4 separate regions of the Homo sapiens genome follow, and regions 2, 3 and 4 are each linked to region 1. Evidence: promoter capture Hi-C in 16 types of primary human blood cells and fetal thymus (Javierre and others, 2016). All regions are on one chromosome and are shown on one strand. Each heading gives the region's core, a stretch centred on a gene start or on the middle of the fragment in contact. The rest is flanking DNA. Distances are from core to core; before and after follow the strand shown. Region 1 holds the start of APBB1IP (amyloid beta precursor protein binding family B member 1 interacting protein). Region 2 overlaps ABI1 (abl interactor 1). Region 3 overlaps ABI1 (abl interactor 1). Region 4 overlaps ABI1 (abl interactor 1).

Evidence for each region. The method cuts DNA at HindIII sites, captures the fragments that hold promoters and counts their contacts. A CHiCAGO score of 5 or more calls a contact.
Region 2: a contact is called between a fragment that was not itself captured here and the fragment with the promoter of APBB1IP in region 1, in 6 of 17 cell types (total B cells, activated CD4 T cells, naive B cells and 3 more). The highest score is 6.5, in total B cells.
Region 3: a contact is called between a fragment that was not itself captured here and the fragment with the promoter of APBB1IP in region 1, in 1 of 17 cell types (neutrophils). The highest score is 5.1, in neutrophils.
Region 4: a contact is called between a fragment that was not itself captured here and the fragment with the promoter of APBB1IP in region 1, in 2 of 17 cell types (fetal thymus and total B cells). The highest score is 8.0, in fetal thymus.

What each region holds. Positions count from the first base shown.
Region 1 is chr10:26,435,187-26,441,927 of GRCh38, reverse strand. It overlaps APBB1IP (amyloid beta precursor protein binding family B member 1 interacting protein), which reads right to left and starts at 3,587. Exons shown (of 15, transcript NM_019043.4): 1 at 3,473-3,587; 2 at 3,075-3,276. RefSeq lists enhancers at 3,254-3,333, 3,894-4,023, 3,741-4,270. The HindIII fragment of the contact is 5,297 bases long and covers 738-6,034 here.
Region 2 is chr10:26,840,248-26,846,988 of GRCh38, reverse strand. All of the region lies in intron 1 of ABI1 (abl interactor 1), which reads left to right. Among named protein-coding and RNA genes, the nearest start is that of ABI1, 17 kb to the left of the region's middle. The HindIII fragment of the contact is 1,045 bases long and covers 2,419-3,463 here.
Region 3 is chr10:26,815,766-26,822,506 of GRCh38, reverse strand. All of the region lies in intron 2 of ABI1 (abl interactor 1), which reads left to right. Among named protein-coding and RNA genes, the nearest start is that of ABI1, 42 kb to the left of the region's middle. The HindIII fragment of the contact is 7,986 bases long and covers 1-6,741 here.
Region 4 is chr10:26,795,920-26,802,660 of GRCh38, reverse strand. The region is part of intron 2 of ABI1 (abl interactor 1); the gene reads left to right. Among named protein-coding and RNA genes, the nearest start is that of ABI1, 62 kb to the left of the region's middle. The HindIII fragment of the contact is 591 bases long and covers 3,203-3,793 here.

The sequences.
Region 1 (6,741 bases), core at 2,338-4,837:
GACACATCTAAATTAGTACAGGGCCTGGTAGTATTTATAAGTAAACATTATAATAATTATTATTTGCTATTACTATGTGATGATCAAAGAGAAAACTGAGTTGACAGAGAAGAAAGAAAATAGCTCTTATGATTCTTAATTATTCAAGTTCATGGTCAACGCTCAGGAAATGTTTTAAAACTGAGTCACGGAATCAAGCTCCAGAATATGTGGAATAATGAGAACGTGTGATGCCTTGGAGTGGTGTCACCTCTCTGCTTGCTCATGCCTGAGGTTTGGGACCAGTGGAGCCAACGGGATCTCAGGGGCTTGTGATATTTCCATGGTACCACTCAGTGAGATTAATATATTCTGCACATTTAGCCAGCCTCTTTGGAGTCCTCATTTTGGGATCACAAATTGGCTAGGAAATGATGATGCAGTGGTGGCAGGTCACATCCTCTAGTCCCCCAAAAGCTGTCCTCAGGGTCTGCCCTTCCAAGCTGCAGGTACAATCTAGTCTCTTTAACTGGGTATAGGTGTAATGGCATTCCTTCATGCGGCTAGTTCTCTCTTTTCAAGAGAAATCTAATGATTACTGTTCCAGATATCTAGCAGTTTTCTCTAAAAGTCATGTTTCTCACGATAATTAAAAGTGTAATATGTATTTTAAAATCCCCATGCAACCAGTGTAGAAATCTTACACTTTAAAATCTGGCATTTATTATGTACATGAATTTATAATAAATGCTTAAGCTTTAAGTGACTTGCCTCTTAGATGACAGCAGTGACATAAAACACACACATTCATTTTCATACTGAGAAGATACCTGTTGTGTTAATAAAAATTGTTCTGTTTTGAGGCAAGCATTCCTAAGATCACCGTAGTCTCCATAATATAAACTCATGGGGTCCTATAAAATTGTAAAGATTGTGGTCCAATAGGCTATGGAACGCAGACAATTTATTATAAGATTTGTGGACTCACTAAAATGTTTTAGGCATAAAAATAATTAAAATAAAATTGAAGAGAATTAGAAGAAAATGAAAATAATAATGCTCTTTGGAAGTAAGATGGCTTAAAGAAAATTCAAAGTGACATATCAAACAGACATTTATGGCAATGAACTTTATAAGTAGCTCATTCTAATAATAATATGGAACTATTTAAAACTTTGATTGATGAGTGAAAAAAGGCAAATCAATAGTGGATAACTGGTGAACATTCTTAGGATATAAAAATACAAAAAATGTAATAAATACTATAAAACCTAGTATTGTGTTTAAGATTTAAAGTAATGCCATAAAGTAATTCATATTACAAAGTTATATTTCTTGAGAAATAGCAATTTAAAGATTTCAAAATATAATATTGACCTGTTCAAGTTTGGGCTGTTTCTTATCTCAGTTTTCAAATAAGATGGAAATTTGCCTTTTTACATATAGGCCAGATATTGACTGCGCTTTTACAGGAACTTCTCAGAAACAAAAGACCTCAAAGATATTGATATTTCAGAATGTAATCTGTTATGGTTATGATTATTTTCTCCATTTTTAAAAAATTTGTGATCAGCAATTCTAATGTTGATATAATGTTGCCAGTATTCCAGTTGGGACCAATTCAAAGAATTATAGCAACTCCTCAATTGCTATTTTAAGAACAGACATAATGTAGCCCAATCATCTCACTTTACTGACGTTATCTGAAGTCCAGGGAGAAGTTATGCAAGTTAATCAATATCATCCTTATCTAGATGGGGGAGATATAAGAGCCAGAACCCAGGTCTCCCAAGTGCTGAGAAAAAACCCAAATATTAGTAATTATTAATAGTTTAAGGATTAATAGTTTAAGGACACACATTATTAATAGTTTAAGGATGAAGTTAAATTTCTTAGACCTTTCACAACACACGTTGAGCAGACAGGAAATACCACTAGAAGACTTTATAAAGTATTTCTCAGCAGATCCTTGCTAATTTCGCCAGCCAGCATCATCGTCCTGGCCCATGTGCCACCCATTATTCCAGTGAGGCCAGAGGGAAAATCGCTGCTCTAGGTTTATGAAAAAGGACAAAGTTTTCCTTTCTGAAATTTCTCTCTGGAGACCCAGATTTTAAAATGAATAGTAGCTAGTACCGGCACCTTTGTTTAAACCACGTTATGCCACCAGAAAAAAACATCTGGGGGCATAATAAACTCACGGGCCCTTTTCTTTTGTTACTTTCCTCTAGTACTCCGTCTCGTCAAGGATCACATTAAAAGTTCTTTTGAACCGCTATGCCCTGAGTGTCTAGGAAACACATTTCACGTTCCACAGGGGTATGAACTAAGAAATACCTTAGCAGGAAAGTAAGAGGTACACCGGGCTAGGTCTTTGGTGGAACACCTGCGCAGAGGTTCTTGGAGACATTAGGACACCCTAGTTAGTTTCCTCCATTCTGTAAAAGGCCCTCTGGATATTCATTTCAAGCCAAATTATGAAACTTGTGCCTGGTGTCCAAATCTATCTTTATGGTATTTTAAAATGAAAATGAGAATATTCGGGGGAAAAAGTTATTTTTAAAAAGAGGAAAGAGTTGTCCAAAAGTTTTAGAGGAAGGAAACACTCTAAGATGCATCAGACTGCGAGCCACACTCAAATTCTCACACGGCTGGCATTTAATCCACATCTAATCTTGGCCCCTCAAGAATCCCTCCAGGTTCCGGGAGACTGGGGCTCCCGGACCTGCTGACCTGCTGACCTGCTGACCTGCTGGACGTGCAAGGGTTCATAGCAGTTCCCCGTTTGACCTTGCAGCAATTTCCTGGGCAGGAAATCTGTCAAATCTGTTGCAATAGCTCGGGAAAAAGCAAACCCGAACCCCAAACCCTCACACCCCCACCCTCGCGAGCCGGGTCCAGAGTGGAGATCAGCGGAGGGGACCCTGGGGACCCGCTGCGCTCGAGGGCCACGCCTGGGGGCACGCGTTCACGAGGCCAGATCCTGGAGCTGCCCCCGGCGTCGGACCCGACGGGCTTGACAAACGGGTTCCTGACAGCCCCGAGGGGCCCGTGCTGGCGCTCCCAGGGCTCCCGGGACTGGGAGCGCCACTTACCTCGACTGCTCTGCGGGGCGCTGCGGGGCGCGGGAAGGCGGCGAGACTCCGGCCGGGAAAGCGACGCGCGGTGCAGACTGCCGCACCCGGGCTCCAGGTCGCTGCCCCGGGGAGGAAGTGCTGTCAGCCCTGCCCTTCCCACGCAGCGCGCAGACGTGTGGCGCTATCCGAGCTGCTTTGCTCCGAGGTGCAAGGAAGGCCCCTGGTTAGAGACAGTGGGACAGACAAACATATGCGTAAAGGACTCCGAGTTAGGGGCTGCTTTCTCCAACTCATCGAGTCTGCGCCTGATTTTCTCTCCCCCATCCCACCCCTACTACACAACCACCTTGAAGGGATTTTTATTTTATTTTATTTTATTTTATTTTAATTCTGGGAAACGTTGCGCCTCCCCCTACCTGTGCCGCGCGCGCCCTTCTCTCAGGAGCGTCTCCTGGCGAATGGAACCATTTTGCAGCCTCGACGCAAGAGGGACTAAGGGATTGGGGCCTAGTGATGGTTCCACCAAAGACTGAGAGGCCGCTTTATGTTGCAACGGTCTCCCAAAGTGTTTACTTCAGCACTTTCTGGGCTTCCTCTTTTGGGCCGGTTGTGCAAGGCTTCCCGGCCGCCTGCAGCCCGCCCTCAGGGGACGCGGTGCAGGGCTGGACTGGCAACACGCGCGTCCCGGCCGGAGTTCAGCTGTCTCTCGGGTGGGGGTGGAGGAAGGGCGCGCTGGGCGGAGGCCCTTTCTCAACCATCAGGTTGGTAACCTCACCCTCCTCCCTCCCCACGTTTAACCACGCTCAGTTGGCCGGCCAGGGTGTAGAGGAATAGCACTGTCTTCATTGCTCGTAGAAATCCAAAATGGTCTGAACCCCGTGGAAGAGAATTGAGCAATATCTATTTAACTTATGTATGGATTCGCCTTTTGACCCCGTCATCCCACTTCCAGGAGTGTGTTACGAAGATCTGCTGATGAAAATAAGTAATGCACACGGCAGAGGGCATTCATGGACTCACTATTTGCAACAGCATAGGACTGGCTGGAAATAGCACCTGTCAGTTGGGAGTGGAGTTTCCTGAGAGAAAGTCGCTGGGGAGGTCTGAAAATACAGAAGTTAAAATCAGTTATGATTTGTAAATGCGGTTGAATAACCCTCCCCTTCTCCTCTACAGCTGTGTCTTCAAAGGCTTATATGTCAGGGAAGGTGGTGAAGACATAAAGACAGAAATTAGGTGCATGTGTTAATTAGGCAATTTCAAATAGTTCTGTCATTTATTTAATGAGAAACTATTCGTAAGCACCAACACTTCTAAGAACAATGAAAATAGTTAGAGGAAACAATTTCTGCTCTCATGCATGGTGCATTCTAGTTGGTAGAAAGCAGACAATAAACAAATTAATATTTAACATGTCAAGGAATGTAACTAGTTTTGAAGGAAGTTAAAAGGTGAGGGATAGAGAGTGATGGGCATGGGGATGGGGTTGCTGTATTAATTAGGGTAAATAAACGATAAATAAATAGAAAATATATTTTCTCCTCATGATTTTCTTAATAACAGTTTCTTTTCTCTAGCTTTCTTTATTGTAAAAATACAGTATTTATCTAAATACATATAACATAATATGTGTTAATTGACTGTTTAATATTATCAGTAAGGCTTCTGGTCAACAGTAGGCTATTCGTGGTTAAGTTTTGGGGGAGTCAAAAGACATACATGGATTTTCAATTGTGCAGCAGTTTGGTACTCCTGAAATCTGGCATTGTTCTGTTACAGTAGGTAGCTAGTCAGGCATGAGCAGGGCAGGAGAGGGCTCCTCCCACCCCCTACCAGGAATGTCAGGTGACCATCAGGTGATGATCAAGCAGTTGTTATCAGCCTTACTGATAACATAGTCGATTAACTCATATTATTTTATATATATTAAATACTGTATTTTTATAATAAAGTAAGCCAGAGAAAAGAAACTGTTATTAATAAAATCATAAGGAAGAGAAAATGTATTTTTCATTTATTTATTTATTATTTATTTATCCTAATTTTTTTTAATATAGCACCAGGGAAAGGCAGTCTCCCAATAGACAGAAACACCTGAAACTGGTATTTCTGTCTGATAAGTGACACTTGAGCTAGATCTAAATGGCATGAGAGATTAATCCACACTGGGTTTTTAGATGGGAATATTCCAGGCAAAAGGAACAGCACATTCAAAGACCCTGAGTTAGGAGAGCACTTAAGATATTGGAAAAACACCAAGGAAATTAGTACGGCTGAGCAGAGTGAGATGGGAGGGACAGACATGAGATGGGATCAAAAGGAAATGGTGCCCAGATTGTGTGCTATTTGGGAGCTGTGGAAGAGAATTTGATGTGAGTGAGATGGAAAGCCAGTGGAAGGTTCTGAGCAGAGTTGTAAGTGCTACATAAAATATAAAATCAAACAATGAGAGTGACTTTCTTGGGGCAGGGAAAGTGGTCAAGGATCACCTCTTTACAAAGTAATGAGAAGGGGCAGCCATTCAGAAACTTGGGAAAGGATTCCAAGAGAAGGAAGAACAAGAAGAGGGGCTGAGATAGGAACATAGAAAGTTCAAAAGAAGGCAGGCCAGTGTGCCTGGAATGTTCTGAAAGAGTAGGGCAGCAATAGTGGATGGGGACAGAGAGGTAAGCAGGAACCAGAACAAGCAGGACCTTGTAGCCAGCATTGAGGACTTTAGGTTTTATTCTAATTGCAATGGGGGACTATTGGAATGTATTTAGCAACTGAGTGCATGATTTGACTTAAGCGATAAGCCATCCTGCCAGTTGGTGATTGTTCAGAAAATCAATTGATTGAAGCAAGAGAAGAGAGATTCCTCAGTAGACTATGGTCAGAGTCCAGATGAAAAATGATAGTAGCTTTATTAGTATTCTAACAGTAGATATGGTGAGAAGAGTTTGGAATCAAGATACAGTTTTCAAAATAAAACCAAAGCTTGGCACAGTTGCTCATGCCTGTAATATCAGTGCTTTAGGAGGCCAAGGTGGTAGGATCACTTGAGGCCATGAGTTCAAAACTAGCCTGGACAACATAGCAAGACCCTATCTCTACAAAAATGGGGGAAAAAATTAGCTGGGTATGGTGGCTTATGCCTATGGTTCCAGTTGCTTGGGAGACTGAGGCAGGAGGATTGCTTGAGCCCAGGAGTTCAAATCTGCAGTGAGCTATGATGATGCCACTGTACTCCAGCCTGGGCAACAGAGCAAGACTATTTAAACAAACAAACAAACAACCACCTAGCAAAGTAGAACCAATAGCATTTGCTGATGGGTGGGCTGGGAAATGGGATGGGAGTAAGGGAGTGGCAGAGGGATTAGAAACTGAATGGAAACCAGTATGATTGGAGTTATGGAAGGTCTGGTTAGAGGTAAGGTCAGTAGGGGCAAACCATGTAGGGTCATGTGGACTATGTCAAGAATTATTTTCTCATCCTAAGAGCAATGAGAATATATTAAATAATATTTTAAGCTGGCAAATGATGGGATTTATGCTTTAGGAAAATCACTCTGGCATAATTTGGGGAACGGATCAGATGAAGAAAAGAATAGATGCAGGAAGACTTCTGAGCTAAGTTGGGAAAGAAAATACAATTGGCCTTTGAACTGCCAGCAGCAGAATATATCTGAGACACGGCACCAAAATA
Region 2 (6,741 bases), core at 1,692-4,191, 410 kb before region 1:
TAAATTACATCTAGGGAAGGTACATGTGACATGAAAGTATACATCAGGTGCTGCCACCTAGCTTGGTGTGTCATAGAAGTAATGTTGGAGTTGAGATCTGAAGGGTGAATATATGTTAACCGAGAACATTTGGGGGAAGGGAAAACAGTGTCTCTGTGGAGGGGAGAGCAGCATGTGTACAGGCTCAAAGGTAAGAGTGAAGGCAGAGTGATTTTGAACAAGTTACACACTTGTGTACTTCAGAGTAAACAGAGTCATCTGTGAAGAGGTAGGTAGGTACCAGATAAGGATTTTGATCTTTTTTTTTGTCTGAGGCTGATGAGAAGGCATTGAAAGTTTTAAGCAAGGCTGGGCGCAGTGGCTCCTGCCTGTAATCCCAGCACTTTGGGAGGCCAAGGTGGGCCCATCGCTTGAGGTCAGGAATTTGAGACCAGTCTGGCCAACATGGTGAAACCCCGTCTCTACTAAAAATACAAACATTAGCCAGACATGGTGGTGCTTGCCTGTAGTCCCAGCCACTCAGGAGGCTGAGGCAGGAGAATCACTTGAACCTGGGAGGCGGAGGTTGCAGCGAGCTGAGAGCACGCCACTGCACTCCAGCCTGGGCAACAGAGTGAGACTCTGCCTCAAGAAAAAAAAAAAAAAAGAAAAGAGAAAGAAAGTTTTCAGCAATGGGATGATATAATTTTTACTTTTTATGAAGTTTACTCTTGTTTAGAGTGGAGAACAGATTGGAAGGAGGATTGACTACAGATTGGAAGGAGTTCAGAACAGATTGGAGGGTGGCTAGTCTAGAGGTGATGGTAGCAATTGGTGATGGTTTTTCTAAAATCTTTTTTTTTTTTTTGAGACGGAGTCTCACTCTGTCGCCCAGACTGGAGTGCAGTGGTGTGATCTCAGCTCACTGCAACCTCTACCTCCCAGGTTCAAGCAAGTCTCTCTGCCTCAGCCTCAGTAGCTGGGATTACAGGTACCCACCACCGTGCCTGGCTACTTTTTGTATTTTTTTGTAGAGACGGGGTTTCACCATGTTGGCCAGGCTGGTATTGAACTCCTGACCTCAGGTGCTCTGCCTGCCTCGGCCTCCCAAAGTGCTGGGATTACAGGCATGAGCCACTGTGCTTGTCCATTTTTTCTAAAATCTTCAGTGCCTGAACTCATCATGGTAGACTGTGACTATTATTTTTCTTTTCTAAAAAGAGGAGTATTTGAGGCTATTGGGATTTGTTGAACTGAAATAGAGAAAGATTCATTCAACAAATAGTTAATTGCCTACTCTATGGAAGACTGTCTGTTAGGTATTATGATGTGGTGGTATGATGTCTATATTATTATTATTATTTTTGAGACAGAGTTTCGCTCTTGTTGTCCAGGATGGAGTGCAATGGCACGATCTTGGTTCACTGCAACCTCCACCTCCCGGGTTCAAGTGATTTTCCTGTCTCAGCCTCCCAAGTAGCTGGGATTACAGGCACATGCCACCATACCCAGCTAGTATTTGTAGCTTTAGTAGAGATGGGGTTTCATCATATTGGTCAGGCTGGTCTCGAACTCCTGACCTCAGGTGATCCGCCCGCCTCAGCCTCCCAAAGTGCTGCGATTATAGGTGTGAGCCATCATGCCCTGCTTTGTGTCTATATTATTTATAAGCTATGTAGAAATCACTGAAAAGCCTTAAATCTAAGAAAAAGAAAATTGGTCTATAGTATGTATAGTTAAATGAGGAAATGTTCTGTATGGAAGAAAAATAATTGTTATTTTTGAAAGGGTTTTGATTTTAGTTTGGGCAGTCAGAAGTTTGCTTATGGAAAGAGAATATGTCAAGCAGCTTTTTTTTTTTTTAAAGCATTTAGGTAATATGTTCCTATAAAAGGGTCAATACAGTTGTATTAAAAGTCAAACCTAAAATGTCTCTTCTTCTTCTCCCCATACTGCTATTATCCTCTCCCCTCAAACTGTATGCTTGTTTTCTGCCTTTCCAGTTTTTGTACAAAGGATGTGCTTTGGGAAGATTCATCTTACATTGGTACGGGATGGATTGGAGAAGGGAGAGACTGGATGGACAGTGACCAGTTAGAGGACTGTCACATTTGTCTCACTGTAAAGAGTATTTCATGAATTGAGATAGCTGTAGTAAGATTGAAAAGGAAGATAAGAATCAGCAAGCCTTGGTGAAGGAGATATGGGTGGCTGCGGGAAAAGGAGAACCCAAAGAAGGCTTATTTAACCGGTATCTATTTTCCCCTAGCATAAAGCTAATGCGCCTACAGAAGGTAATTTGCAGTCACAGAAGTGAATCTATAGACCCCCTCTTTTTCAGCTGTTAGTACACAGTTGGTTTCTGACACTTTCCAGCTTTTACTCCTCCACAATTGAATTGATTGGCAGAGCAGTGGGTTGGAGAATAGGAATAAAGCTTGACTGCTAGCTGGCTGCGTGGGCAGAACAGGGAAGGGAAGAGGGAAGAGGAGAGGAAAGGGATTCCAGTTTCTCTGGCTATATACTGTTGTGGCATGAGGTGCATGTCTTTTGATGTTAATTTTGATGTTCTATCATAACCTTCTGCATTACAGATTGTTGGTATTTTTATATGTGTAGTCTTTATAAATTTCAAATACATATGACGTGGGTTGAAAATGATCTCTTTTTGAAAGGAACTTTTAGAGAGAATTCTAAGGAACAGTAGTGTTTGGGGGTTCTCAGGCAAAGTTTCTCCTAAAGAATGAGTTTAGCCGAGTCATTAATTTAAAGAGTTGAGGGGAAGGGGGATTGGGAGGCAAGGGATATATATAGGTAGTAGGAACAGAAAGATAGCAAGGCATGTTTGGGAGAGCTGTGAGTAGTGTCAAGTGCCAGGGAAGGTGGAGGAGATGAAGTCTTAGTCAAAAACATACTTGAACTGCTGTCACTAAACTGTAGAAGATCGGATCAGTGTTTCCCAGATTTGAAAATAGAAACCGTGTTTTAAATTTAACACTGGTAAGATGAAATTGTGCTTTTGCTATGTCCTGACATATTCTGTTCATTTGTCTAGACACGTTTGGCATAATCAACAGAAACCACTGGATGAGTGGTTAAATATAAGATAAATGAGTTATAGGTCTGAATCAATCACTTTTGTATGAGCTAATTGTCATAACTTGGGGACTGCTTGTATGAGTGGCTTTATTGTTAGTGTTTATTAATGTCTTGTGGTATATAGAGCTATTTTTTTTTTCAACTCAATTGGGTATTTCTTCCACCCATCCTACCTCTCCTACCTTGCCCCACTACCACAAAGAAGAAGAAGAAAGGCAGCATGGTACTATCTCTATGAAAATCCTGCCACTCTCATTTTTGCTTTTTGGGTGAGGAGGTACGGTGCTGCAAGGTGGGAAGAATGTGTGATATATTAATATTTACATCACTGAGGAGAATTGCAATACATTCCTTTTATAGTCACATGGAAGTTTTAGGAAAAGCTTTGCTTCTACATATATATATATATATATATATATATATATTTTTTTTTTTTTTTTTTTTTTTTTTTTTTTTTGAGACGGAGTCTTGCTATGTCATAAAGGCTGGAGTGTGGTGGCATGATCTCAGCTCACTACAACCTCCGCCTCCAAGGTTCAAGCGATTCTCCTGCCTCAGCCTCCCAAGTATCTGGGACTACAGGTGCATGCCACCACACCCCGGCTAATTTTGTATTTTTTAGTGGAGACAGGGTTTCACTGTGTTGGCCAGGCTGGTCTTGAACTCCTGACCTCAGGTGATCTGCCCACCTCATCCTTCCAGAGTGCTGGGATTACAGGTGTAAGCCACCATGCTGGACCCCACCAAGATATTTTGACCTATGGATACTATAAATCATATAATCTTTTTTCCTTTATCTTTGTGGATTCATGCAAAAGCCAGAGCCAAACTTGTGGCTCTAATTTATTATTTATTTATTTACTTTTTAAGATGGAGTCTTGCTCTGTCGCCCAGGCTGGAGTGCAGTGGCTAGATCTTGGTTCACTGCAGCCTCCTCCTCCCGGGTTCAAGCAGTTCTCCTGCCTCAGCTTCCCGAGTAGCTGGGACTATAGGTGCACACCACCATGCCCGGCTAATTTTTATATTTTTAGTAGAGGTGAGGTTTCACCATGTTGGCCAGGATGGTTTGATCTCCTGACCTTGTGATCCACCCTCCTCGGCCTCCTAAAGTGCTGGGATTACAGGCGTGAGCCACTGCGCCTAGCCTCTTGTGGCTCTAATTTATTATGTAGTACTCTGTGGTCTGTATATTAATGTCTTGCCTTTATCTTTTATATTATATGGTAAAACCCTGATTTTTGTATTTTGAATTTTCTTGTTTAATTGTACACATTTTTGTACTGGTATATCAATAGCTAATGGCCTCTCCCCAGACCAATGAAATTGGCATCTTTTTAGGGGGAGAGGGTTAGATTGGGTCTCAGGCTCTGGAATTTTTTAAAAAGCTCACCAGATAGTGCTGGTGTCCAGCTAGAATTTTCTTTTTGGATTCCACACTAAAAGCTTAGGCCATAAAAGCAAAAATAAATAAATGGAATGACGTCAAACTGAAAAGCTTCTTCAAAACAAAGGAAACAATCAACAAAATGTAACAACCTATGGTCTGGGAAAACATATTTGCAAACCATTTATCTGATAAGGGATTAATATCTAAAATTCATGAAGAACTCATATAATTCAATAATAGAAAAATAATCTGATTAGAAAATGGGCAAAAGACTTGAACAGATGTTTTTTCAAAGAAGACATAAGGATGGCTGACAGGTATATGAAAAGGTACTCAACAGCATTAGCCATGCAGAAATGCAGATCAAAACCACTGTGGGCGTCACCTCACACCCCTTAGGGTGGCTGTCATAAAAAAGTGAAGTGATAACAAATGTTGGCGAGGGTGTGGAGAAAATGGACCCCTTGTACACTGTTGGTGGGAGTGTGGATTGGTACAGCCATGATGGAAAATAGTATGGAGGTTGCTAAAGAAATGAAAAATAGAAGTACTATATGACCCAGCAATTCCTTATCGGGCATATACCTAAAGGAAGTGAGATCACCTTATAAAGATATCTGCACTCCCATGTTCATTGCAGTGTTATTTACATTAGCCAAGCTGTGGAAACAACCTGAATGTCCACTGATAGATGAATGGATAAAGAACATGTGATATGCATATATAATGGAATATTATTCAGCCTTAAAATGCAGATACTGCCATTTGCCACAACATGGATGACCTGGAGGCAGTATGCTGAGTGAAATAAGCCAGACACAGGAAGACAAATATTGCATGATCTCATATGTGGAATCTTAAAAAAAATAAAAAAAAAGAGTCAAATATACAGAGTGAATAAAAGAGTGGGTTACCAGGAGCAAGTGGGTGGGGAATGGGAAATGTAGGTGAGGGGTAAGAAAATAGCAAGTATGTAGGATGAAAGAGCCTAGAGATCTAATGTGTAACATGTAGCTAATAAGAGGACTGTAGCTAATAAAATTGTACTATATTTGGAATTCCTGCTAAATGAATAGATTTTTAGCTGTCCTTGCCACAAAAACAAACCAAAAAAAAAAAAAAAAGGTAACTATGTGGGTTGATATATATGTTAATTTGCTTCACTGCAGTAACCATTTTGCTTTCTATATGAATCCCATAACATCATGTTGTATGCTTTAAATATATACAATAAAATTTATTTAAAAAATGAAATAAAATATATGGTTGATATAAAAAGAATAAAAGCTCACCAGGTAGTGCTGATGTCCACCTAGAGTTGAGAATCACTTTTCTAGAGCAAGAGTGGGCAGGTGTTTCCTGTAAAGGGCCAGATAGTAAATATTTTAGGCTTTGCATGCCATATGGTCTGACACAATTACTCAACTCTGCTATTGTAGTAAGAAAACCATAGATGATATGTAAGGAATGGATGTGGCTATGTTTTAGTAAAATGTTATTTGCAAAAATGGGGAGAAGTATTTGGCCTGAGCAGGGACATAGTTTCTTGATCTTTGTTATACAGCCTGAATTTTAATTACTATGCTAGAATCTAATGGTAGTGGTTGATGATGGACCAAAACTGTATTGGTGTGGCCCATATACTGAGGTGAATGCCTTTTTAAAAATGCTTTTGTATCCTGTTAATTGGTGTTTAGATTTCTAAGTGATTAAATTACCTATTTGCCTGGGATCTGATGTGATAATTTATTAATAAATTATTATTTTTTGTCTCTTGTTTCTGTGTGAACAGAATATCCCTTTGTTCACATCTCAGATTTTTTGGAATAGCAGTAGCATAGAAAATTCAATTGATTACAGTAGAGATTAATTGATACTTACAGTTTTGTAAGTTTTATACTCTTCCAGAATAGATTAAGAAATTAGGATACACGTAATTTGTCAGGTAGTGTCATACTGGTCCTGATTTTTGATTTGGAAAATGTGATTAATGAATCACTAGGCTGGAGATAGCTAAGACTATTCTGTGAAACTGTGTTGTAAGCTGGTTTAAGTGAGTGTCTTAGTCTGTTTGTGTTGCTACAAAGGAATACTTCAGGCTGGGTAATTTATTTGACTTGTGGTTCTGCAGACCGTATAAGAAGCATGGTGCCAACATCTGCTTCTGATGAGTGCTTCAAGTTGCTTCTACTTGTAGCTGAAGGGAAGGGAGCTGACATTTGCAGAGATCACTTGGCAAGAAGCAAGGTGGGGAGGTGCTAGACCCTTTTAAACAA
Region 3 (6,741 bases), core at 1,966-4,465, 380 kb before region 1:
TATTGTTACACATTTTGTTTATGTGTTCACATGTTGATGGAAATCTGGGTTGTTTTTAGGTTTTGGCTATTACAAATCCTATGAAAACATTTGTATGCAAATCTTTGTGTGGTCATATGCTTTTATTTCTTTTGGGTAAGTACCTCTGTGCAGAATGGAGAGGTCATGTGGTAGGTGTCTGTTTCACTTTAGAAGAACCTACCAAATTGTTTTTCAAAGTGGTTATACCACTTAGTCTTAGTTTGCTGAGTGTTCTTATCAGGAATGGGTGGTGAATTTTATCAAACGCTTCTTTGCATTTGTTGAAATGATCATATATATGTGTGTGTATGTATATATATATATGTCTATTAATATGGTGAATTACATTGGTTTGTGTGTGTATTAGGAATTTTTGTTTCTGTACTCTTGAGTGCTGTTGGGCTGTGGTTTTCTTGTAATGCCTTTGTCTGGTTTTGGTGTCAGTGTAATGCTGGTTTTATTGACTGTAATGGGCAGTATTCCATCTGGACCTGGAGTGTTCCTGGTGAAAAGGATTTTAACTACATATTTAATTTCCTTTGTGGATACAAGCCTATTCTGTTTATTTGTTTTTCCTTGAGTGAGCTTTTTATCTTTCTAGGAATTTAGCTATTTCACCTAAATTGACAGATTTATTTGCATAAAACATTTATAATAATCCTCCTGCTTTGTTTTTTTTTTTTTTTGAGACAAGAGTCTTGCTCTGTTGCCCAGGCTGGAGTGCAATGGCGTGATCTTGGCTCTCTGCATCCTTCGCCTCCTGGGTCCAAGCAATTCTCCTGCCTCAGCCTCCCAAGTAGCTAGAATTACAGGCGCTCGCCACCACGCCTGGCTAATTTTTTGTATTTTTAGTAGAGACGGGGTTTTGCCATGTTGGCCAGGCTGGTCTTGAATTCCTGATCTCAAGTGATCCACCCACCTTGGCCTCCCAAAGTGTTGGGATTACATGCTTGAGCGACAGCACCCTGCCTAATCTCTTATTTTAAAAATATCTGTAGAATCTATAATAATTTCACATTGCTCATTCTTCATATTGGTAATTGGTGTCATCTTTCTTTTTTAAACTAATCATTATGGCTAGTTTACCAACTTTATCGATATTAAAAACATCTTTGGCCTTATTAATTTTCTATGTTTTTGTTTTCTGTTGCATTGATTTCCATTCTGATCTTTATTATTTCTTTTTCTTTTCCTTACCTTGGGATTGATTTGCTCTTATTTTATACTTTTTTTTTTTTTTTTAGATGGAGTCTTGCTCTGATGCCCAGGCTGGTGTGCAGTGGCATGATCTCGGCTCACTGCAACCTCCATCTTTCAGGTTCAAGCCTTTCTTGTGCCTTACCTTTCTGAGTAGCTGGGATTACAGGTGCACCTCACCACGCCCAGTGAACTTTTTTGTATTTTTAGTAGAGGCAGGGTTTCACCATGTTGGCCAGGCTGGTCTCAAACTCCTGGGCTCAAGTGATCTGCCTGCCTTGGCCTCCCGAAGTGCTAGGATCGCAGGTGTGAGCCACCACACCCAGCCTTATTTTATACTTTATTAAGGTGAAAGCCAAGGTCATTTAATTTACTTGAGACCCTTAATCTTTTCTAACATAGGTGTTTAGGTCTGTAAATGTCCCTCTAAATAGTGTATTATTGGGAGGCCGAGGTGGGTGGATCATGAGGTCAGGAGTTCAAGACCAGCCTGACCAAGATGGTGAAACCCTGTCTCTACTAAAAATACAAAAATTAGCCGGGCGTGGTGGCGGGCACCTGTAATCCCAGCTACTCACTCAGGAGGCTGAGGCAAATTACTTCAACCTGGGAGGCGGAGGTTGCAGTGAGCCGAGATCGCGCCACTGTACTCCAGCCTGGGTGACAGAGCAAAACTCTATCTCAAAAAAAAAAAAAAAAAGTGCATTAGCTGTATCTCATACATTTAGATATGTTATGCTTTCATTTTCATTTAGCTGAATATAATTTCTAAGTTTGCTTTTTTATTTCTTTCTGACCCAGGGGTTATTGGAAATGTGTTGCTTAGTTTGCAAGTATTTTCAGGTTTTGCAAGGATATTTCTGCTGTTGATTTTTCTAATTTAATTTCTTACTGGTCAGAAAAATACACCTCATTTGATTTTTTTTTCATTAAGTAGCTTTCCCCCGCAGCTTTATTGAGTTATAATTGACACAAAAATCATATATATTTAAGATGTACAATGTGATGTTTTGATATACATATACATTGTGAAATGATTACCACTATCAAGCTGACTAGCATATCTATCACCTCACACAGCTACTTTTTTTGTGTGTGGCGAGAGCATTTAAGATTTCCTCTTTTAGCAAATTTCAAGTCTACAACCCTATATTATTAACTATAGTCATCATGCTGTACATTAGATCTCCAGAACTTATTCATCCTGCATAGCTGAAACTTTGTACCCTTTGAGCAACAGCTCCCCATTTCCCTTACCCCCTAGTCTCTGACAACTACCATTCTACTCTCTGCTTCAGTGAGCTTTGATTTTTTTAGATTCCACATCTGAAAAAGGGAGATCATTCAGGGTTTGTCTGTCTGCGCCTAGCTTATTTCACTTACTGTAAGGTCCTACAGGTTCATCTGTTGTGTCATGTTGCAAATAACAGAATTTTCTTTTTTAAGGCTGAATAATAGGAATTGTAGTCTGTTTAAATAAATGTATATGTATATCCCCCCCATATTTTCCTATTCATCCATTGATAGACACCTAGATTGATGCTGTGTCTTGGCTATTCTGAATAATACTTTATATGCTGTGAGTCCTTTCATATTTATTAAGAATTGTTATATATCCCAGAATATGCTCTGTCTTGGTAAATGTTTTGTGTGCATTTGAGAAGAATGTGTATTTTTCTCTGGTCAGGTGGAATGTCTATAAATCTCATTAAGTCAAGTTGGTTGATAATATTCAATTCTTCTGTATCTTTACTGATTCTATCTAATTGTTTTATCAATTATTAAGGAAGGTAAATTGAAATCTCCAACTATAATTCTGAATGTCTATTTTTCTTTGCATTTTAGTCTTTTTTCTGTTACGTATTTTGAAGTGATACTATATTAGGTACACAAATGCTTTGGCTTGTTAGGTCCACTTGATGAATAGACCCTTTATCTTTGTAAAGCCTCTTTTTATCTTGGGTAGTATTCTTCAGAAATCTGCTTTGTCTGATATGAATACAACCATTCCAGCTTTCCTTTTATCCTCTTTTTCTGCCTCCTTGTGTGTTAATGGAGTGAATTTTTTTTGGGGGGGGTGCTGATTTGGTGTAACACTTTGTTCTGCTTCTCTCTTTTATTATTTCATTCATGTTTGCCTTAGGGCTTCTGGTAAACATCTTTAAACTTTTTAATATCACTTGAAGGTAGACTATGCTATTACTTCAGGAGTATGTTTAAGACTTTGTAATAGTTGATTCCACTTCTCTCCTGTCTTAGGGCTGTTGGTGTCATGCACTTTCTTTTTTCTTTTATTGAGACGGAGTCTCGCTCTGTCACCCAGGCTGGAGTACAGTGGTGCGATCTCGGCTCACTGCAACCTCTGCCTCCCACGTGCAAGCAATTCTCTGTCTCAGCCTCCCGAGTGAGTAGCTGGGATTATGGGTGCCCGCCACCATGCCCGGCTAATTTTTGTATTTTTAGTAGAGACAGGGTTTCACCATCTTGGCCAGGTTGGTCTTGAACCCCTGACCTCGTGATCCACCCACCTCGGTCTCCCAGAGTACTGGGATTACAGATTACAGGTATAAGTCGCCACGCCTGGCTTGTGTCACGCATTTTCTTTTTGTGTATGTTTTAAACCCCACAATGCTTTGCTCTTTTTTTTTTTTTTTTTTGTGACGGGGTCTCGCTTTGTTGTCCAGGCTGGAGTGCAGTGGCGTGATCTTGCCTCACTGCAACCTTTGCCCCTGCCTTCCCCCACCCCACCTTCCCAGTTTCAAGTGATTCTTATGTCTCAGCCTACTGAGTAGCTAGGATTACAGGTGCATGCCAGCTAATTTTTGTATTTTTAGTAGAGACGGGGTTTCACCATGTTGGCCAGGTTGGTTTCAAACTCCTGACCTCAAGTGATCTGCCTGCCTTGGCCTCCTAAAGTGCTGGGATTACAGACATGAGCCACTGTGCCTAGCCATTATTTTTGTTTTGAAAAGCAACTAGCTTTGAATGAGATTTAATATGAGGAAATTAATTCCTTTATATTTACCCATAGTTATTATTTCTGATCAGAAAATATACATTATATGATTTGAGTCCTTTCAAATTTGTTAGGAATTTTTTTTTTTTTTTTTTTTTTTTTTTTTTTTTTTTTGAGATGGAGTCTTGCTCTGTCTCCCAAGCTGGAGTGCAGTGGCACCATCTTGGCTCACTGCAACCTCTGCCTCCTGGGTTCAAGCCATCCTCCTGCCTCAGCCTCCCGGGTAGCTGGGACTTCGGGCATGCGCCACCATGCTCAGCTATTTTTTTTTGTAGTTTTAGTAGAGATGGGATTTCACCATGCTGGCCAGGCTGGTCTCAAACTCCTGACCTCAAGTGATCTGCCTGCCTCGGCCTCCCAAAGTGCTGGGATTACAGACATGAGCCACCGTGCCCGGCCAGGAATTGTTTTATAGCCCAGAGTTTTGGTGGTTTTTATTCCCTTGGAATACTTTAGCATGAAGTGTTGCTCTATTCTGCTGGTGATGAGTTCTTTCAGCTTTTGTATATCTAAAAGAGATTTTTGCTTTTTATCCCTGTTTATTATTGTGGCAGAATATGCATAAGATAAAATTGATCATTCAACCATTTTTAAGTGTACAGTGGCATTAAGTACCTTGACATTGTTTTGTAATTATCACCACCATTCATCTCCAAAACTTCTTTCCTTTTTCCAAACTGAAACAATGTACCTGTTAAGCACTAACTCTCCATCCGCAAGTGATCCTCCCACCTCAGCTTCTTGAGTAGCTGGGACTACGGACATGTGCCATTGTGCCCAGCTTATTTTCATGTTTGGTGGTATCCTGTTGCCTTTTTAGATTTTAGGACAAAATTGATATAGATTGGAACTTTGCTAAAATAATTTTTTTTGTAGAACAGAATCTAGTGTAGAGTGATTCATGCTGGTTCTTGAGGACTTGCACAATGTCTGGCAAATGACTGGTTTGCAGTGTTTACTGAATTAAAATAAATCTCTTGGCCGGACATGGTGGCCTGTAATCCCAGCACTTTGGGAGGCTGAGGTGAGTGGATCATTTGAGGTCAGGAGTTTGAGACCAGCCTGGCCAACATGGTGAAACCCCGTCTCTACTAAAAATACAAAAATTAGGCGGGCGTGCTAGCAGGCACCTGTAATCCCACCTACTCAGGAGGCTAAGGCAGGAGAATCGCCTCAACTCGGGAGGCAGAAGTTGCAGTGAGCTGAGATCCCACCAGTGTACCTCAGCCTGGGCGACAGAGTAAGACTCCGTCACACACACACACACACACACACACACACACACAAAGTCTTTGCAAAATTACTTAGGAAAAATATAATAGAACCTAGTTTTTAGTTGATTCTTATACATGGATTATAACCAGAGGATCACTGTACATTTTATGTATAGGCAGTGATTATTTTGCATGGTTATTGGAGATTATAAAAAATGGTGATGCATGCTCAAGGTATACAAAACAATCTTACTAGTCAATGGGTAAAATTATGGTTGTTCTGTGATCTGTAAAATTTTTTGTCAAAACATTAAAATCTCTCTTTTTGTTATAAATGAATAGAGAAATGAAAAAAAAGTTATGCTAATGTTTAGTATACCATAATGTAAAACATTCGAGGTATTGAGAATTAAAGGGTTTTATTTCTTAAGAAAGTAGTTTGAATAGTGCTTGCTACCTTCTCACTGTGTAAGTTGTTATGAAGCACACATTTTTTTCTGTGCCTTGGCAAATTGTCATTCTCCTTTCTCTGGGTGGATCAGCTCCTCTCAACATTTTATCCTTTGGATTTTAAATGTTGTGAAATATCTTCTAGAGTTTCTTTAACATAAAGTTTTTATGGGTATCATTTTATCTGTAGTATCTTCTTCCCTTTCTTCTCAGCCACTTTGTTCATTTATGTTAATACATTTGCCTTCATGATATTCTTCTGGCTGCATATCTGTAGTCTCCTGAATGGCAGCAATGTTAGCATTCCTGTATGCATTATTTCTGTTTTAATCCCATTTACATTCAATTCGAATTTCACCTCTATCTAGCATTATCACTTTTCATGTATTTGCTGCAGTTTCATCTTTGTTGGCCAGTTCTCTCTTTGATACCCAGTTTTGTAAAATGTCACAATGGCTTATCATTTAGGGGACAAGGAAGCAGCACAACTATGTACTTTGTAGTCTGTGGATAAACTTAATATCAGATGTACAGAGACCATTCACCAATAAACTTTGAAACAAAGACACGATTGGTAACCAGTAATGATGCTCATCTGTTACTTATGTGGACTTCAGACCTAGCAGCGAAGTTTCTGCTTTGTGCGATTATTTATAGTTCTTGTGGTAACTGAAATTTATTTATTTTTATGTTTTTATGAGACAGAATCCTGTTCTGTTGCTCAGGCTGGAGTGCAGTGGCACAGTCATAGTTCACTGCAGCTTTGAACTCCTGGGCTCAAATGATCCTCCCGCCTCAGCCTCCTGAGTAGCTGGGACCACAGATGCACACCACCATACCCAG
Region 4 (6,741 bases), core at 2,249-4,748, 360 kb before region 1:
CTGCTGTTAGCGCTACTTCCTATATTTACCATGTTTTCCCCTTTCCCCTCATCACTCCATTGTGTTTACTTCCTTTGTATGTAAATGCTCTGTGAATGATTGTCATTGATTTATTGTATTAGTTTTTGATTGGAAGTCTAGCTAGTATATCCCCAACATGTATTATTTGTGATACTGCCTTCTCTCTCTCAAACAATTGCCTGTTTTTGCCTTTGCCCTCATTTTAGGTAAACAGGAGCCTCAGTCGGTGAAATTCTAAAGCACTCTACCCACTTTAGATAGGACAGTGCTGTTTTAGTTTATATTATATATTGAGAGTCTCTGTAAGACTTGATTTGAAATTAGGGTTGAATAATAAAAAAGGTTTGAAAATTAGTGACTACAAGGGAAAAAATCCTAAATTACTTTTAATGGCATTTAAAGGTTCTTTAAAGGTCTGGCATCTGGCGCCTGCCTTAATTTTTTGCCTTGTCCTAACTCTTCTTAGACTTTTAACTTCCAGGGATAACAAATGTTCTCTCCCATGTTAGTGTCTTGACATATGTTATTACAGACATGCATCACCTAGCTAATGCCCACTCTTCGTTTAGTTCTTATTAACCTAACTTTTTTAAAAGGGTGGTTTTCCCCTGTTTCTCCTTTCTGACCTGTTTCCTGTCAGCAAACATGCTATTAGGAGTCTCTGTTAACTATTTTTGTGGCATCCTATACTTTCCCTTCATAGCATTTATTATTTGAATTATATAGCTATTTGTCTGATTGTTCGGTATGTGCCTTCCATAGGAGGTCTATTATGGTCATTGCTCTATTCCCATTGTCTAGCATGCATGCATGCATTTATCCAACAAATAACAGGGAAGGATGTTAGAGTGGAAGGATAATCACATCATCTCTTTGGAGGAGTATGATGCAGAATTTAGGGCCATTAGAATTCTTTACTTCAGTTAATGAAAAATCAGTGTATCTTTTTAGAGAAATTTTATTGGATTGCAAGTTACAGGCATAGGACAAAAGAGCTTTTTATTTTGAACAGTTTGAGAATAACTTGCTGGTATGATGCTCTCATTGCCCCTAAATACTGTAGTGTGTATTTTCTTTTTTCCTTTTTTTTTTTGAGACAAGTTCTGGTCCTATCGCCTAGGCTGGACTGCAGTGGCGTGATCTTGGCTCACCGCAACCTCTGCGTCCCGGGCTCAAGTCATCCTGCCACCTCAGCCTCCTAAGTAGTTGGGACTGCAGGTGCATACCACCACGCCTGGCTAATTTTTGTATTTTTTGTAGAGACAGGGTTTTGCCATATTGCCCAGGCTGGTCTCAAACTTGTGAGCTCAAGTGATCCGCCTGCCTTGGCCTCCAAAGTGCTGGGATTATAGGTATGAGCCACCGTGCCCGGCCACGATGGTGTGTATTTTCTAGAAACAAATACATTTTACTGCATCACCGTATTACGCTCATCAAAGTCGGGTGATTACCACTGATACATTGCTACCATCTAATCAACAAATTCCATTCAAGTATGCCAGTTGTTCCAGTAGTTTCATAGGAAAGGATCCAGTTCAGAAACATTAAATGTCATGTCTCCTTCATCTTCCTCAGTCTGGCACAGTTCCTCAGTCTTCTCTTGACCTCATCTGACCTTGATCCTTTGTTTTTTGAGATGGAGTTTTGCTCTTGTTGCCCAGGCTGGAGTGCAATGGCACAATCTCGGCTCACCGCAGCCTCTGCCTCCTGGGTTCAAGTGATTCTCCCGCCTCAGCCTCCCCAGTAGCTGGGATTGCAGGCGTGTGCCACCATGTCTGGCTAATTTTGTATTTTTAGTAGAGATGGGGTTTCTCCATGTTGGTAAGGCTGGTCTCGAACTCCCGACCTCCCAAAGTGCTGGGATGACAGGCGTCAGCCACTGTGCCTGGCCCCTTGATTTTTTCTTTTTGAGGCAAGGTCCTGGTCTGTCACCCAGGCAGCAGTGTAATGGTCCTGTCATGGCTCGTTGCATCCTCCACCTCCTGGGCTCAAATGATCCTCCTGCCTTATTTTTTTGTTTTATTTTATAGAGATGAGTTCTCACTATGTTTCCCAGGCTGGTCTCAAACTGGAGGGTTCAACCATCCTCCCACCTTGGCCTACCAAAGTACTGGAATTATAGGTGTGAGCCACCGTGCGCGGCTGACCTTGATACTTTGGAAAATTTATAGCCAGTTGTTTTGTAGAATGTGTCTCCGTATGGGTATGTGTAATGCTTCCTTGTGATTAGATTCAGGAGTTTTGTTTTTGTTTTTGAGACACAGTCTCACTCTTTCCCCCAGGCTGGAGTGCAGTGGCGCGATCTTGGCCCACTGCAACCTCTGCCTCCAGGGTTCAAGCGATTCTCCTGCCTCAGCCTCTTGAGTAGCTGTGACTGTAGGCACACGCCACCATGCCCGGCTAATTTTTTGTATTTTTAGTAGAGACGGGGTTTCACCATGTTGGCCAGGCTGGTCTTGAACTCCTGACCTCAGGTGATACACCTAGGTTGGCCTCCCAAAGTGTTGGGATTACAGGCTTGAGCCACTGCGCCCGGCCCGATTCAGGTGATATATTAAGGATGACTTTTTGAAGGCAGTAGTTTCCTATTTAAAAGCTGCTCCCACTGTCTTAATTTTTTTTTTTTTTTTTTTTTACGTTTTTGTGGTTTATATTGTAAAATTGTTTTCCAAGTGTTTTTAGTTTTGTGTCTTTAGAATCTGTGATAATATGGAAATCTAGAGGAAGCCTGTAGAGAACTTGGCATGCCCATCAAGATGTGATGTCCCTAAAAATATTTTGAAAGAGAGCAGCAAAATGTACTGTCAGAGGAATTTTTTTCAATTAATTGGGAATAATTGATTTTGCTATAATTTGTCATTAAGATCATTTCTAATTGAAAAATTCTTTGGGTTTTGAATTGCAAATGGTACTTGAACTTCTAACGCATAAATAAGTATATTTAATTATGGCAGAACTTATTTCTAAAATAGCCTTCTTGGTTAAAACAAATTGTACACATTTCATCTCTCAGTTTTAGCTCTGAAATGATTTGAAAATCCAAACGAAGGCAGTCAGAATCACTGTTCTAAGCCTATTTTTAGATTTTTTCCCCTTCAGTTGGTTTCCTTTCTAGCCACCTGCAGTTTTATGTGCAGTTGCACGTGCTCATTTTTTCTAATTTCCCCCCTCCCCCGAAGCTTGGCAAGCAGCTTCTTTATTGCTTTTGGTTTGTTCTTTTTGAAGAGCACAGTGTAAATTATAAAGCCTTCATTGAGTATTTAAATGTATTTTAAAATATTTTTGAGAAAATGCAGCATAATTATGGAATACAGGACACTCTGCCTCTAAGAATCTTTTCTGATTATAGTTCTCGATATTATATTAATATACTATATATTAATATGCAGAATATATCTTTTTTATTCTTGCAGTTTTTTTCTGTTTTTAAAGATTTGTCTGGATGACAGAGCTTTGGGAGATGGAACTGGAAAAAAGCTAAAAAAATTGCCTCTTCTAAGAAATCATATAACTGGATTCACAAAAATACAGTGATACTTATTTTAATAGGAGTACTATTGAATTTACATTTAATGTAGTTAATGATATATTTGAATTCAAATGAAACAACATCATTTTGTGTTTTCTACTTATGTCATCTGTTCTGTCTCTTTTTTCTCCTTTCTTTCTTTTGGATTAACTTCCTTCGGAGATTTGTTACATGTGTACATGCTGACTCCTGCTTGTGGTGAATTTTTTTCCTTATGTGTTTTGTAAATTTGTGTTGTAAGCTTATTTTAAGATCTCATGTGTTGAGATCTCTGTGCCACTTAAGGGATATACCATTGATAAGCTAAGCTGAAGGTATATTCCCTGTTCTGCTAAGTGTTCTAGGATGCCGTCAGTCCAGGACTATTTATACTTTTTGAACCTGAAAACTTCATGGAAATGTGTATACTTTCTAGAACATTCCCCAACCCCACCTCAGTGTGTGCGCCTTAGTTTCCTATAGTTGCTGTAACAAATCACCGCAAATTTAGTGGCTTATAACATATCTTTATTATCTTACAGTTCTGGAGGTCAGAAGTTTGAAATGGGTTTCACTGAGCTAAAATTAATATGTGGATAGGGCTGTGTTCCTTCTAGAAGCACTAGGGGAGCATCTGTTCCCTTGCCTTTTTTCAGCTTCTAGAGGCCACCTGCACTTTTGGCGCATGACCCCTTCATCCATCTTTAAGTCACCAATGGCCAGTTGAGTCTTTTTCGTATGGCATCACTGATCAGTACTGACCCTCTGGCCTCCCTCTTTGGCTTGTAAGGACCCTCGTGATTTCATTTGATTCACCCCCCCCAATACTGGATAGCACCCCGTCTCAAGATTCTTAATCACATCTGCAAAGTCCCTTTTGCTATATCAGTTCTAACTTCCCACCTTCAGCAAGCCCAAAGGGTATTTTAATTTTGTCCCCATGTGGCATAAAAGTACAAGCTCCTTTGCTAGAGGCCAAAAAGCTACTACAGAGTAGCTGCAGCCTTGTTCATGTTTTCTGCTCTGAATTTTTGTCCTCTCTTTTTCCTAGTCTCCCTGGATTTTCTTTACTCTCTTTAGTTTTGGACTGTGAATTTTAAAAAGATGCTTTCATAGCATCTTTAAATCAAGCATTTTTAGGTAGTTTCTAGTGGGAGAGATTTCAGGTTATCTAATGTGCCATATTGCTCTAGTTGGCATTGCTTATATTAGTAAGGTAATAATGACTTTAACAAGACATAAAGTCTGTTACTTTGTTTTCCTATTATCCTTTAATTTAAAATGCTTTTAATGTCAATCAAAACCCCTCAGTGAATCTCATCTTTGAAAAGTCAGTTAATTGTGATTAAAACTCAGTTTCTTCATATGAACATTCCGTTCTACTCTGATATCGACAAGCCATGCTTTTTTTCTTTAATCTGAACAGCATGTCTTGGTTTACAGCTCTGACCCCACTATTCAGCCAGATCAGGTTTTTCCTACCATGCCTTGCCTTCCTTCTTGACTGTCTGCTGAGATTCTCCCTCATTTTTACATTTTCTGTGTTTCTGCTTATCTCATTTGAGCTAAAGGCATATAGATACTCTTCTGTACCAAGCTGTTATCTTTGGACTTCATTTTACAACTCCCTCCCTTCCTCCCTGTGATAATATGTGAATGTGATTAAAAACCAGTCACATACTACCTAAGGGATTACAATGACAAGCGGAATTCAGTGCAATCCCTTCCTATCCCTAGTCGTGCTTTCTAGAGCACTTATAGAGTGCATATTGTATACCAGGCTTTTTACATAAATGAACACCTATGAATTAATTCATTCTTATAACAACCTCATTTTACAGATGAAGAAATTGATACACAAAGAGCTTAGGCAACTTGTTCAGGATAATACATCTATTAAATGGCATCATTTGAACCAGGCAGTCTGGTTTTAGAATCTACTTGTTATCACTATGCTATACTGTCCTTAGTTTTAGACTAAAAATTACTTTCCTTTAGACTTAAAAAATAAATTTTACTGTGTATATTTGAGGTTTACAACATGACGTTATGGCAGGGGTCCCCAACCCCTGAGCTACTGGCCTGTACTAGTCCGTGGCTTGTCAGGAACCGGGCTGCATAGCAGGAGGTGAGCAGAGGGCCAGCGAACATTACTGCCTCCTGTCAGATTAGCTGTGGCATTAGATTCTCACAGGAGCGCAAACCCTATTGTGAACCTTATGTCCAAGGGACCTAAGTTGCATGCTCCTTATGAGAATCTAATGCCTGATGATCTGAGGTAGAACAGTTTAATCCCAAAACCATTCGCCTGTCTCCCCAGTGCGTGGAAAATTGTCTTCCACAAAACCGGTCCCTGGTGCCAAAAAGGGGACTGCTGTGTTATGGAATACATATAGACAGTAAATTAGTTACTATAGTGAAGCAGATAAACACATCTGTCATTTCACATAGTTACTTTTGTTAAGTGATGAGCACCTAAAATCTACTTATTTAATGAAAATCCTTAATACAGTCATGCTTGCTTAATGACAAGGAAATGTTCTGAGAAATGTATTCCTAGGCCATTTTGTTGTGTGAACATCATAGAGTGTACTTACGCAAACCTAGATAGTACAGCCTACTGTATACCTAGGCCCTATGGTACAGCCTGTTGCTCCTAGGCTACAAACCTGTACAGCATGTTACTGTCCTCAGTCCTGTAGGCAATTGGAACACAGTGGTATTTGTGTATCCAAGCATGTCTAAACATAGAAAAGGTACAATAAAAATACAGTATTATAATCTTATGGAACTATTGTTATTATGTGGTGTGATATATATGTGGTCCATTGTTGACCAAAATGTTATGTGACACATGACTGTACAATACAGTTTTATTAACTGTAGTCCTCGTGTTGTACATGGATCTCTAAACTTATTCTGAATATCTGCTATTTTGTATCTTTTGACCCACAGCTCCCTCTCCTTTCCCCCCAAAATAACCATGGTAACCACTGTTTCATTCTCTATTTCTGTGTATTTGAGCTCTTTTATTTTATTTTTTGAGACTGGGTCTCACTCCGTCACCCAGGCTGGAGTGCAGTGACACAATCATGGCTCATTGCAGCTTAGACCTACGAAGCTTTTGAGCTCTTTTATTTTATTTTTTGAGACTGGGTCTCACTCTGTCACCAGGCTGGAGTTTCTCCGTATTGCCTTGGTTATTTAGGATT